4 separate regions of the Homo sapiens genome follow, and regions 1, 3 and 4 are each linked to region 2. The links are contacts of gene promoters, found by promoter capture Hi-C in blood cells and fetal thymus (Javierre and others, 2016). All regions are on one chromosome and are shown on one strand. The core of a region is centred on a gene start or on the middle of the fragment in contact, and the rest is flanking DNA. Distances in the headings are between cores, read along the strand shown. Region 1 holds the start of IQUB (IQ motif and ubiquitin domain containing). Region 2 holds the start of STMP1 (short transmembrane mitochondrial protein 1). Region 3 holds the start of NDUFA5 (NADH:ubiquinone oxidoreductase subunit A5). Region 4 overlaps CPED1 (cadherin like and PC-esterase domain containing 1).

Region 1 (3,093 bases), core at 490-2,989, about 12 Mb after region 2:
TTATTGGGGAGATGAGAGTGCAATTTCAGCAGAACAGTATAAAGAAATAAATGAAGACAATGAACATTTATGAATAAGGGAATGGACCTGTATTAATTTTATTAATCCTTTTAACATATCAAATCAAATTAAACAGTACTGTAATGGTTAAAAAATCTGGGACCTGGAGTTAGATTGCTTAGGTTTAATCCTGGTTCCCTCATTAAACTTTGTGTGCCTTAGTTTTCTCATTTACAAAATGGGTCTAATAGCAGTTTCTCCCTAATAAAATCGTTGTAAGGATTAAATTAGAAATCTATGTACGGTGCCTCATGACAATGAATACTTCATAAATGTTAGCTGCTATTATGAGATAGCAACATGTAGTTTGTTACTAAATTTCCAAGAGGAACATACTTGACTTGACCTCCAATACTATCCTGTGGTTCTTTAAAAGTTTTCTTATTCATTGATAGGCCGGGCGCGGTGGCTCACTCCTGTAATCCCCAACACTTTTGAAGGCGGATTGCTTGAGGCTAGGAGTTCCAGATCAGCCTGGCCAACATGGTGAAACCCCATCTCTACTAAAAATACCAAAATTAGCCGGGGGTGGTGGCGGGCGCCTGTAATCTCAGCTACTCAGGAGGCTGAGGCAGGAGAATCGCGGGAGCCAGGGAGGTAGAGGTTGCATTGAGCCGAGATCGAACCACTGCACTTCAACCTGGGCGACAGAGCAAGACTCTGTATACACTAGAAAAAAAAAAAAAAAAAAGAATTTGTTGTTAGACAAAATTTAGTTTATTAACTAATTTAGTGATTAACAAAAGTTCTTCTAAGCAGAATTATTTGATAGCTACTATCTCCCTTTTCTCTTTGGCTGCCAGGAAGCTGAGAGCCAAGTTGTTAGTTTAACAAAAGCAAGTAGGCACCTGACAGTTTCTCGCCTCTGACTTCATCGTGATGATTTCTCTGACTCGGATTTTTTTTATATCTGTAAAATTAAACTGCTGTCAGTGTTTGGTTTAGAGAGCTGTGCCGTTTCACAAGTGTAAAAGATCTTGGAGAGAAGTTAGTGTCCTGATTCACTTGGATCTAGGTAGCCAGTTGGTAACAGCCTCCGCCTCTGGCTCCTCCCCTTCTCCCTGCCGCGTCCCTCCTCCCCGCCCCTTCGCCTCTGGCCCCGCCCCTTCTCCCTGCCGCTTCCCTCCTCCACGCCCGCTCGCCTCTGACTCCTCCCCTTCTCCCTGACGCGTCCCTCTTCCTGTCTCTTCGCCTCTGGCTCCTCCCCTTTCTCCTGCCATGTTTCTTCTCCCCGCCCCCTCGCCTCTGGCTCCTCCCCCTTTTCCCTATCGCGTTCCTCCTTTGCAGCCCCCATCCCCCTCCTCTGGCTCCTCTTCTTCCCTACCGCGATCCTCCTTCCAGACCCCGGCCCCCAGCCCGCCTCTAGCTCCTTCCCTTATTTCCTGCCGCGCTCCTCCTTCCCGACACCGCCCCTCCGCCTCTGGCTACTCCTCTTCTCTCCTGCCGCACTCCTCCTTCCCGGCCCCACCTCCCCGCCTCTGGCTCATCCCCTTCTCTTCTGCCGCCCTCCTCCTTCCCGGCCCCGCCCCCAGTCTTTGGCTCCTCCCCCTACCCTGCCGCGCTCCTCCTTCCCGGCCCCTCCCCGCTGCCCTCTTCTGGCTCCTCCCCCCCACCCGCCTCTGGCTCCTCTCCTTCCCACCCCTGCCGTGCTCCGGCAGGAAGAGGTGGTGCCAGGGCCGTTGCTAGGATACGACCAACAGCTGAGAACGCGGCGAGTATGGAAGCTGCGTCTTAGGAGCCTGGGAAAGCACTTCGACGAGAATAGTTTGGTTTCGTACACAGGTAGGAGAACAGATTTTGACTGCGGCCTCCTGGTCCGACGCTTAGATCCAGCCTAGAGCCGGTGACAGCCGCGCTGGACTCTGGGTTCTGTGTGCTGGGCAGTGATTCCCACCTGAGCGCCTGGGGCTGCCTAGTCGGTCAGGAATGTTCCGACTTTACTTTAAAAACCGTGCGAAGCATCTCATCTTTCTCGGCTCCTTTTTTGGCTTCCCCTCTCTGATTTGGGACTTGAACCAGCAGCATCAAGCTAGGAGGTACACCTCACCTCACACCCTGGGTGCTTGTCACGGTAATTGCATAGAAGATGTGTGTATAACCCACACCTGGCACTAGAGACTCTTAGCCTTCCGTGGCCACCATTCTCATATTAAGTCGAGAGATTTTAGACTTTCCTCACCTGGCACTCTCACTCCTTCCTCTCCACCCTTGGTCTTTGCCTCTTAACAAACCTAAAAATTCAACAGATCTATTTGGTAGAAGGCAATACTGGATCCCTGCCTCACTAATTATACTACATTCTAAATGTGTTAAGCTTTAAATGGTAGGGAATGAAATGTAGGTGAAAAGGGAGACTTTTTTGTATGCAAACATGATAGAGGTTGCTTTTTAAACAATAAGATTTAAACATTTTCATTTGAATAGATAATACATAAAAAAATAGTTCGAATAGTAAAAAGAATGAAGAGTGAAAATCCTCCATCTACCCATTTCTCCCCATCTCCAGGCCACCTTCCACAGGTGTTTTAGACATACGCAAATATGTAGTTACACCTGTAACATTGTGCATACTCTTCTGTGATTGGCTTTTACACTTAAGACTGTGTGTCCAGTTGTTTTCTATCAATATTTACAGATCTGTCTCATTTATGCATTTATGGATGAATTTATGTATTTATGTTTCATTGTGAGAAGGTGTTTCGAAGCATGTCAGGAAATTTGGAAACTCTCATAAGCAAAAAGATTGATAAATGTCACTACCTAACAATCTAAAACTTTTATATAGTAAGAGAAAAACAACATCAAACATACAATGGGAAATATAAGGGCAACACACAACAAAGGGATATTTAATTATTAGGACTCATAAAACAATATGAGGATGTAAGGAAACAGTCAAGGGGAACTTCTTGGGGCTATAATAGAAAACAGTTTGATGGAATTTAACAAAATTAAGATCTGTATGCCCTTTGACTTGTCCATTCTAATTCTGGGAACTCATTTTCAGTATACTTACACATATATACAGAGATA
Region 2 (3,142 bases), core at 124-2,623:
AGATCCCGAGGTCAGGAGATCGAGACCATCCCGGCCAACGGGGTGAAACCCCGTCTCTACTAAAAATACAAAAATTAACTGGGCCTGCTGGCGCGCACCAGCTACTCGGGAGGCTGAGGCAGGAGAATCGCTTAAACCCAGGAAGCGGAGGCTGCAGTGAGCCGAGATCGCACTACTGCACTCCAGCCTGGCGACAGAGCGGGACTCCGTTAAAACAAACAACAAAAAAAGATACAGCATTTGAGCCGGGAGCAGTGGCTCACGCCTGTAATCCCAGCACTTTCGTAGGCTGAGGTGGGTTGATCACTTGAGGTCAGGAGTTCGAGACCAGCCTGGCCAACTTGGTGAAACCCGTCTCTACTAAAAATACAAAAATTAGCTGAGCATCCTGGTGCGCGCCTGTAATCCCAGCTACTCCGGAGGCCGAGGAGGGAGAATCGGTTGAACCCGGGAGGCGGAGGTTCCAGTGAGCCCAGATTGCGCCACTGCACTCCAGCCTGACGACACAGCGAGACTCCGTCTCAAAAAAAATAAAAAATAAAAAAAAATAGAGGTTGAAAGCATCAAGTTTTGAATGCACAATAGCTTGGCAGAAAAACTTTCACTTGAAAATTTGATGAGCAACTCCTGGAACCTTCACCAAGCAATTTTTGAAATATACCGAGTTTTGCCAGAAAACTCGTTTTTAACTCAAATAAGGAGCCAAGAGAAATAGTCTGCTTACTCATGCTTACACATTTTGGGAAAAATTACTTGTATACCAGTGTCTGACTCATTCCTCCAACTCTGAAAGGTCTGATGAGGACTTAGCCTCTCGGACTTCGTGAGGTGGCTAATTTACGGTTTATTCCTGGCCTTCCTACCTCCTCAGAAAAGCCAACTAGCAGGGCTCCACAGCAGGGACCGGCCGGCGACCATGTAATGGAACAGGAGCGCAGAAAGAAAGGGGGGCGGACTACGAAAAGTCATCAAGGACCACACAAGCTTTAATACAAAGATTGCACAATGAGCGCGGGGCGCGGCACACAATAAGAAGCTCTGGAAACGCACACTCTCTGACACCTCAAAGTTTTAGGGACTTGGATGGCTGCAGAAAAATATTGGCAAAGGGATTTTCTGGGGAGGCAGGAAGAAAACGGCCGCCCTGCGAGGCGACGACCAGGCGCGGGGGACGAAGGGACCGCTGGACCCACGCCCAGGCCGGGTCGGCGGGGTCGGCAATCCTCAAGGGGGAAATGGGGTCCGAGGCACGCCCCAGGCAGCGGGCCCCGCTCTTCGGCAGCTCCACTCACCAGGAACTGGAGCATGATGTCGGTGGGGAGGGCGAGGAGGGCGCGAAGGACTGCAGCAGCTCCGCGGGCCGGTCCGAGCCTACCTCCCCATGCGCGGGGGGGGCGGAACCCCTCGTCGACTTCCGGGTCACGCCACGCCCCGCCCCGCTCCTCCCACTCAGCCCGCGCCCGGAAACGACTTGCAGTGTCGCAGCGCCCAGGTTCCCCCTGGCGGAGCGCGTTGGCCTCACCGCCTGAACCGGCGGGGCAGCGAGCGCGCGACAGGACTTGCGAAGAGCAAGTCCCGAGCCTGGCTGGGCATCCTTGAGCATCCCGCCTCTGTAAACCTGGGCCGAGGCCCAGGAATCTATATTATTCTCAGCACGCGGACTATTCTGATACACAGCCCAGTTTAGGGCTCTCTAACCTAGAAGGACGGCATGAGCAGCGGGTCCCATCCCTAGGTTCGCAGCTGAATCGTGGGGGCTTTTGCAGCATCCTCTACTTGGGCCCAGCTGGACTTTGCGGGGAGGAAAGGAGGCTTGTAGCTCTCAAAGCTCCGCAGGTGTGCTGTGTAATCAGCGTTGTGTAATCAGGTGTTGTGTAATCAAGGTAGAGGCTGGGTACCGTATGGGGCCCATGCTGCCGTGTGCCGCACGCCAGTCACTGAGATGATGAGTTTTGTAGCAGAGAAAAGGTTTATTCACCAGGCAGCCAGCCGAGGAGACGGGAGAACAGATCTCAAATCTGCCTCCCCAAAGATGGGTTTTAGGGATATTTATGGGATAGAGGAGCAGGGTGGTCTGAGGTGTGGGGAAAGGCGGTTGAAGGTAAGGAAAAGTTTGGCAATGGGTTATCTGCGCGAGGTAGTCAAGCTTCATGGCTCTTTATAGGATACATGGTCACAAAATGACATCCTTAGCATGATCTGAGTGTGGAGGTTTTGGCCCTCTAATGTCAGAAGGACACCCATCGGGCTTTCATGCAGGCCCAGTTGAGAGGTTGGTGGTTTAAACTGTACAAGAACTGACCCCAACTTCCTGAAAAACAAGAAACCTTTATCAAGCAACCCAGATGTCAGAGATGTTATCCATAAGGAAGATAGTGGGAGCTTAGATATATATTGTTTAGCTCTGTGACTTTAGCTATGTGGGTTTTTTAATCCACTAAAAGCAGGTGACTAAAAACAAGTGAGAGAAGTTGCATTTGGCAGGCCTCATCAGGTTGGCTCTCAGTTTCACTGGCCTAGCTGGGTTTCTTGCCTGGGATGGCCATAGGTCCTGTTGACAATTTGTATCATCGCCACAAAGAGTCTGTTCTGTCAGTCTTCCGGTCTGTGTATGTGTGTGTTTTTTTCTCTCTTTCTCTTTTAAAGAATTTATTTTAAGCCTATTATACCACACAGTATGTTTTAAACACTAACTCCCTAATAAGATATATAACTCCCTAATAAGATAAAGCAAAGACAAAAAAAGTTCATCTTATTAGAAACAAGATACACCATCCCTTATTGTCTTCAAAAATTATTGCACTTTAATTTTCATAATTTGACAAAGCATTCATGAAACAATCTGCAGACTAGTTTTAACAGACAAATAACACCTGTAAGCAGACATGACTGTCCTAAATTATTAGGTACGAATTTTACAAACTTTTTTTTTTTTTTGAGACGGAGTCTCGCTCTGTCACCCAGGCTGGAGTGCAGTGGCGCAGTCTCGGCTCACTGCAAGCTCCGCCTCCCGGGTTCACGCCATTCTCCTGCCTCAGCCTCCCGAGTAGCTGGGACTACAGGCGCCCGCCACCACGCCCGGCTAATTTTCTGTATTTTTAGTAGAGACGAGGTTTCAACGTGTTAGCCAGGATGGTCTCGA
Region 3 (3,333 bases), core at 478-2,977, about 12 Mb after region 2:
CTGGTTGGAATCAGAGTCCACACCTGGCTGAAGTTTTTGTTTCTTGTTGATTTCTTTGTCTGGTTGGAATCAGAGTAATACTTGCCTTATAGAATTAGTTGTTAATTGTTTCCTCCTCTTCTATATTTTGGAATAGTTTCTTAAGTGTTATTCTTTAATTGTTCAGTGGAATTTACCAGCGAAGCCATCTGGACCTGTGCTTTTCCTTCTGGATAGGTTTTTTTTTTTTTCTTGCTAATTCAATTTCTTTAATTATGTTAGATCTAGTCAGATTTTTCTTTATGCCTTCTTGAGTTGATTTAGGTAGTTTGTGTTTTTCTAGGAATCTGGCCATTTTATCTACTTTATCTTTTTTAAGCATAGTTGTTCATAGTATTCCTTCTTATTCCTGTTTATTTCAGCAAGGCTATTAGTGATGGTTCTTTTATTCTTGCTTGTATTAAATCTTCTCTCTTTTTTTTCTTAGTTTCACTAAAGGTTTGCCAATTTTGTTGATCCTTTTAGGGAACCAATTCCTGGTTTCATTGATTTTCTTTATTGATATTCTGTCTCCTTCTTTTCTAATCTTTAATATTTCCTTTCTTCTGTTTGCTTTTGGTTTAGCTTTCATTTTTTCTAGTCTCATGCCTCTAATGAAAGGCCTCATCTCTTCCAACTCATTCTCTTCAACTGTTGCCTAAGTTGTTTGTATATCTGAAACATAAATTTGATGGTGTCACTTAGAAGCTTAAAAGTCTTCTCATTGTTCCCATTCCTTAAAAAGTAAAATTCAAATTTTGTATAATGGCAAACAACACCTTTCATAATCTTAACCAGTTTACCTTAACAATCAAACCCACCTTTCCAATCACATAAAATCACCTGGAATTTATATATACATTTTTAACCTCTTTTCCTTTGTACTTGTGTTTTCTCAATTTGTTCTTTTCTCCTACTGACTTTTTAGAAAGTCACCCACGCTTTTTAGTTATTTCCTTTTCCCTGGTACCATCACACTTTGCATCAACTTCTTTTAGAACAGTTACCAAATTATTTATTAATACACGCCTTCTTCATTATTCTTTGAATTCCAGGATGTGAAATCCCATTTTAGAAATTATGTCCCAGTAACTGACACATAGTGAGTGGTCAGTGTTTGTGGAGGTAGGAAAAAGTGGTATGGTCTGATATCATTTCATCTGGAAATAAGATGATGTATTTCAGCCAGTGAAATCGAAAAGAGCGATGGAAAATGACCTCACACTCCATAGGGCTTTGGTTCGTAAGACACAGAGAATACTGATATCCTTGTGCGAAGAACTAACTTGCTGTTGAGAGATCAATTCAGAGGATGCTCAAGCTCCGTTATCACTTTCATTTTACTAAACTGAGAAAGGAAGGTTGAGGAATGCATCAACGGTTAAGCACAGTGCAGGTTCCTACAGCGACTGGAGTTTTTTGGTAGTTGGGAGTGTTTCCCTCAATCTTTGGGCAAGCCGTCAGCAGTGGCAGGAACAGGAACAGACAGCTGGGAAACCCTTTCTTTCCCCAATCGTCTTCTAGCTTAGCTTTAGGCTTGTATGCCCATCGCGCATGCGTCAATTTTTCTCTTTTAAGATGGGCGGGGCAGAGTCTTTGCTCCTTTGGCGATCCTGAAGGGGTGGAGCTAAGCTGTTTCCAGGGTGACAGAGTGGCGACCTCGGTGGTCGATTGAGCAGGTCTGAGAATTGTTCCCAAAGGGTTGTGCGTCACCGAGTCGTTGGCGCTGTCATGGCGGGTGTGCTGAAGAAGGTGAGACGAATGGAGGTCACTGTTGGAATTTAGACTGTGGGGGTAGACTCAGTCCGATAGCCCTACTTCCCGCGGGTGTTGACCCCTACTGTCGCGGGCTCGGCGGTGCTTTTCGGGGACTCGTTCTGCATGCCTTACCGGGTAGGGCAGGTTAGTGGTTCCGCTCCGAGAGTCAGGAAAAAAGCTCCAAACAAGCGAGACTGAGAGACCAGTAGCTGGCTTTAGACCAGTTTTAGCCGGGGGATTCGTGGTTTTGTATTTCCTTAGCGTGCTGGATGTATGGAAACCGTAGTAAACAGCATGAATCGTGTTTTGTTTTTGAACAGACCACTGGCCTTGTGGGATTGGCTGTGTGCAATACTCCTCACGAGGTATGTACCTTTGTTCTTTCTTCGTTCTTGAATTCCCAAGGAAGACTAAATTCCTGTCACTTTGCTTATTGCAGGGTTAACGGGATACAGATGTTTCAAGCCCTTAATTACAAGCCGCGTGAGCTCTTGAGACACGGGCGCTGTCCACCTACTTCGTTGATCCGATGTCACATTTTTATTTATTTTTGCCATGACCTCTTTATTAAGCCAGTTTTCTTGTTGACTTTTTCCTTGACATTTTCATGGCTTCACTTGTGCTTGCTTCTGTCAGCGCCATCTCAAATTTATATCTCCGTTTTCCATCTTTTCTCCTTGCCTTACCGTTTCTGCTTAGGTGCGTTGGATTACATATATTTAGGCTTACTAAAGGTACTGCCCCCTTTTCCTTCTGTTAGGTCTTTTCCATCTGTATTCACGAATGTTTTCATCAAAAAAACCCACAAAATTTTTTTATTCTTCTTGTCCCTTCTATAATCACACCATTTCTTTGCTTCACTTTACAGATAACTCAAAAGAGTTATCTCTATTTTCTCCAATTTCTTTCTTATTCACCCTTGAATGCACTCAGTCACCCTTGGCGTTTTTCAAGTTCACCAATTATCTCCATGCTGCCAAATCCAATGGTCAGCTCATATTTCTCACCTTCATTGACCTAATAGCAGCGTTTTTTGACACATTTGACACTTTTTCCATCACGCTCTTTTCAAGTTCACCAGTTATCTCCATGTTGCCAAATCCAATGGTCAGCTTATGTTTCTCACCTTCATTGACCTAATAGCAGCGTTTTTTTTTTTTTGACACATTTGACACTTTTTCCATCATGCGCTTTCTTTACTGGGCTTCAGGACTCCCCCAGTCTCCTGATTTTTTCCCCCTACTCTTTGGCTTTCTCTTTTTCTGGTTATTTCTCTTATGCCCACTTTTAAAATTTGAGTTAGTCAGGATTTAGTTCTTGGACCTTTTCTTTTGGACCTGTACTCTGTCACCAAGAGAGAGCAAATCCAAATAGAGAACGGTTTTAAATACCACCTATACACTGACAACAGATTTCCATGTAAAGCACTGACCTCTTCCTTTATAAAAGTCCTGAATATTTAATTGCTTAGTGGGCATCTCTATTTGTATGTGTCAGACAGGCAACCCAAACTTAACATGTCCAAAATGGGGTTCCTGATCTTCTGCCTAAAACCTG
Region 4 (3,159 bases), core at 333-2,832, about 15 Mb after region 2:
AATTATATCTGCGATAACCCTATTTCCAAGTAAGGTCACATTCTGAGGTACTGGAGTTTAGGGCTTCAACATATCTTTTCAGGGATGGGGTACACAATTTAACCCATAATACCAATGAATGGAGTTAGCATATGGGGCTATAATAAAATAGAAAGGACATAGGTCTCAGTCCAGTCCTGTCCACACTATCAACTTGTTATGTTACTTTGAGAGAGCCACTTTCTTTCTGTGACCTTCTTTCTCTTCACTTAAAAAAGAAAGATGTTGAACTTAATCATCTCTAACTTATTTGCAGTTCTAACATTCTAATGTTCCTTCATTTATAAATAGTTACAATGAAACATAAGTTTTATTAGGGATGTTTAAGCACACATCCACTTATGGAGATAAGGGCTGCTATAATGAAGGAAGTGAAACTCCATAGGTTCTCAAAAGCTTTAAGAATGATCATGAAGATTTCTAGAGGTATTGAGTAGAGCAGGCTCCCTGGAGGAGACTCCTGACAGAAGGAGAGATGTGGGAGTTTAGAAAATAGGCAGGCTGTTGGGTGGATTATGGATTATGGATTACACATAGAGACAGGGTAGAGATAAGGCTGGAAAAGTATGTTGGAACATGCCAGGATCAGTGTGGTTTCTACTCAATTGAGTGCGCTCAACGTTACAACTCCTGAAAGCTTTCAGCAGAGGTATTAATGGGACCTGTGCACAGACTGCCTAGAATATGCAGGCAGATGGAGGGGTAACTGGTTAAACCACTGAATGAGTCTAGGTTAGTGACAACAAGGACACAGCATTGAGATTGTGAAGATAGATGCTAAGATTTTGGAATCTGATGAACTCTTATCTGAATTAATTTGGAGGACTAGAGAAAATTCCACTTTACATAGCCATAAGGGCTGTGCTCATGTGATATTTACTAAAATTATAATAGTATAATAAAGGGCTAAATGCACAGCATGGTCCCAGAGAGAAATTAGAAGTTAGAGCTAAAAAAGGAGCACCATGTCTACAGGCAATATATAAACCACAAGGAGGAAATCCAGATCTGGGCCAGATGCCAAGGAGAAGAGGAAGCAACATGCAAGCTGGTTGAGACTAATGTTTCTGAATAAGGGCTGTGAACAAGGCAAGAATATTTTGGACTTTGCACAACAATGTAAATATGATTAATACTACTTAACTGTATACTCACAAATGGTTAAGAGGTTAAATTTTATAATATGTGGGGTTTTTTTACCTCTATTAAAAATTTCTAAGGATAATTCCCTTTTCTTTTTTTTTTGAGACAGGAGCTTGCTCTGTCACCTAGGCTGGAGTGCAGAGGCATGATCACAGGTCACTGCAGCCTTGACATCCCTGGCTCAAGCAATCCTCCCACCTTGGCCTCTCGAGTAGCTGGGGGGCTCCAGGCACATGCCATCAATCCCAGCTAATTTTTTTTTAACTTTTTGTGGAGATAGGCTCTCCCTATTTTGCCTAGGCTGGTCTTGAACTCCTGGACTTAAGTGATCCTCCTGCTTCAGCCTCCCAAAGTGCTAGGATTACAGATGTGAGCCACCACTCCCAGAGTTATTGAAGAAGAAGAAGAAGAAGAAGGAGGAGGAGGAGGAGGAGGAGGAGAAGAAGGAGGAGGAGAAGGAGGAGGAGAAGGAGAAGAAGAAGAAGAGGAAGAAGAAGAAGAAGAAGAAGAAGAGGAAGAAGAATAAAAAAAACTGAAGAATGTTGTGGTCTTTCTAATTTGGAGCTCGCCATGTCGCTCAGTGGCAGACCTCAGATTTGGTAAGGAGCCAGGCCAGATGGATTTGGTGAGGAGCAAGGTACAGGGAAGAAGCAAGAAATATCAAAGGTGTAAAAACTATGCATCTAGGAAAATGGTGGTTGGGTGACAGGTCCTATTCATGGAAATAGGGAGGTTAAGAGGAGTCATTGATTTGGGCATGAGGTTTGTGAAATAAATTATTTAAATTTTTGTAGTATTTTATAATATTCTAGAAAAAGGTAGCAGGAATTTGAAGAGGTAGGTGATATGTCATCTGCCAAGGGTGAAAATTAACAATAGGCAAAACTGATACATTCATCAAGGAAAAGTATAAAACAAGGCAAAGATCCAAGGACCTAAGGTTGGAAATGTCTACCTGTGTCATCAGAGAGAGGAAATGAACTCGAAAAGAGACCACAAGTTTTTCAGAATAACCTTGTTGTGTTGTGGAATTCGAAAAGGAAATTTCAAGAAAGAGTCACTTCCCAATAGCAGAACATGCCTCAGAGAAGAAGGATGTAGACTGAAAATAGATCTCATTAGATTTGGTAATAAGGGGTTCACCAAGAGAGGTTTCAATAGAAATGACCAAATGCAAAGGATAAGGAATCGGGAGAGGTAACAAGGAAGTACATGCAAAGAGAACCAGTTACAGTTTCTCTGAAGGGAAGTAGAGAGACAGGGAGCATATCATATTAGGTAGATTGCCAGGTACAAAGAAAGCTTATTGTTTTATTAGTTCTACACATGTTCGCTGGCAGGAGGAAAGATTTGGAATTGGCAATATTATAAGTAATAGAGGGTAACTGTGGAGCCAATTTTGAAAAAGGTTGAAAAGGGGGTGTTCAAGAACACACATGGAAAGTAAGATTTGGCGAAGAAGAGGCATTTTGAAACAGCCTACCAACTGGTCTTCCTGCCTTCAATTCTACTCCAGTCCATTCTGCAATGTGTGTTTTCTCACTTTCTCTCTAATACACTTATGTATTTATGCCAGTCTTTGCTTAGCATTCTTCAGGGATTCTCTGTTGCCTTTGGAATAGAATCCAGACTCCTTATCATGTGCACATTTCCAACATCTAGACCCTGCTGACTTTTCTACTTTGTGTATTTGCCTTCCTGCTTCCATCAGTAACAACAACAACAACACACACACACACACACACACACACACACACACAGTATAACAAATACTTTGAATTCTCCAAATGTATCAGGCTATCCAGCTATTTCATTTCTTATTTGCATATGCAGGCTAATCTGCATGTAATACTTTTTTCTTTCTCTACCCTCTCTAGTTCCTTCTCAACATTCAAAAAGTAGTCTTGTAATTGTCAGTTTCCTATCACCGTGTTAATTTACTTGTCTGTCTCACAGAAGCTTTTATTTCTATATAAC

The links. Contacts are between HindIII fragments. The CHiCAGO score rates a contact against its expected background, and 5 or more counts as called.
Region 1: the fragment with the promoter of IQUB here is called in contact with the fragment with the promoter of STMP1 in region 2 in 4 of 17 cell types (fetal thymus, non-activated CD4 T cells, naive CD8 T cells and 1 more); the score reaches 13.8 in fetal thymus.
Region 3: the fragment with the promoter of NDUFA5 here is called in contact with the fragment with the promoter of STMP1 in region 2 in 2 of 17 cell types (total CD4 T cells and total B cells); the score reaches 8.2 in total CD4 T cells.
Region 4: a contact is called between a fragment that was not itself captured here and the fragment with the promoter of STMP1 in region 2, in 1 of 17 cell types (M0 macrophages). The highest score is 5.1, in M0 macrophages.

What each region holds. Positions count from the first base shown.
Region 1 is chr7:123,533,241-123,536,333 of GRCh38, reverse strand. It overlaps IQUB (IQ motif and ubiquitin domain containing), which reads left to right and starts at 1,739. Exons shown (of 13, transcript NM_178827.5): 1 at 1,739-1,842. LOC124901740 (a long non-coding RNA gene) reads right to left here and starts at 1,803. Exons shown (of 2, transcript XR_007060507.1): 1 at 909-1,803; 2 at 75-729. RefSeq lists an enhancer at 853-992 and silencers at 1,063-1,192, 1,273-1,422, 1,443-1,672. The HindIII fragment of the contact is 3,094 bases long and covers 1-2,376 here.
Region 2 is chr7:135,660,745-135,663,886 of GRCh38, reverse strand. STMP1 (short transmembrane mitochondrial protein 1) reads right to left here and starts at 1,373. Exons shown (of 3, transcript NM_001130929.2): 1 at 1,293-1,373. The coding sequence starts at 1,307. RefSeq lists enhancers at 1-114, 115-639 and a silencer at 1,279-1,498. The HindIII fragment of the contact is 1,162 bases long and covers 987-2,148 here.
Region 3 is chr7:123,556,212-123,559,544 of GRCh38, reverse strand. NDUFA5 (NADH:ubiquinone oxidoreductase subunit A5) reads left to right here and starts at 1,727. Exons shown (of 5, transcript NM_005000.5): 1 at 1,727-1,770; 2 at 2,097-2,141. The coding sequence starts at 1,750. RefSeq lists enhancers at 1,250-1,389, 1,650-1,699, 1,440-2,018, 1,255-2,454, 2,019-2,597. The HindIII fragment of the contact is 10,047 bases long and covers 729-3,333 here.
Region 4 is chr7:120,994,409-120,997,567 of GRCh38, reverse strand. The region is part of intron 2 of CPED1 (cadherin like and PC-esterase domain containing 1); the gene reads right to left. Among named protein-coding and RNA genes, the nearest start is that of CPED1, 7.3 kb to the right of the region's middle. The HindIII fragment of the contact is 1,808 bases long and covers 679-2,486 here.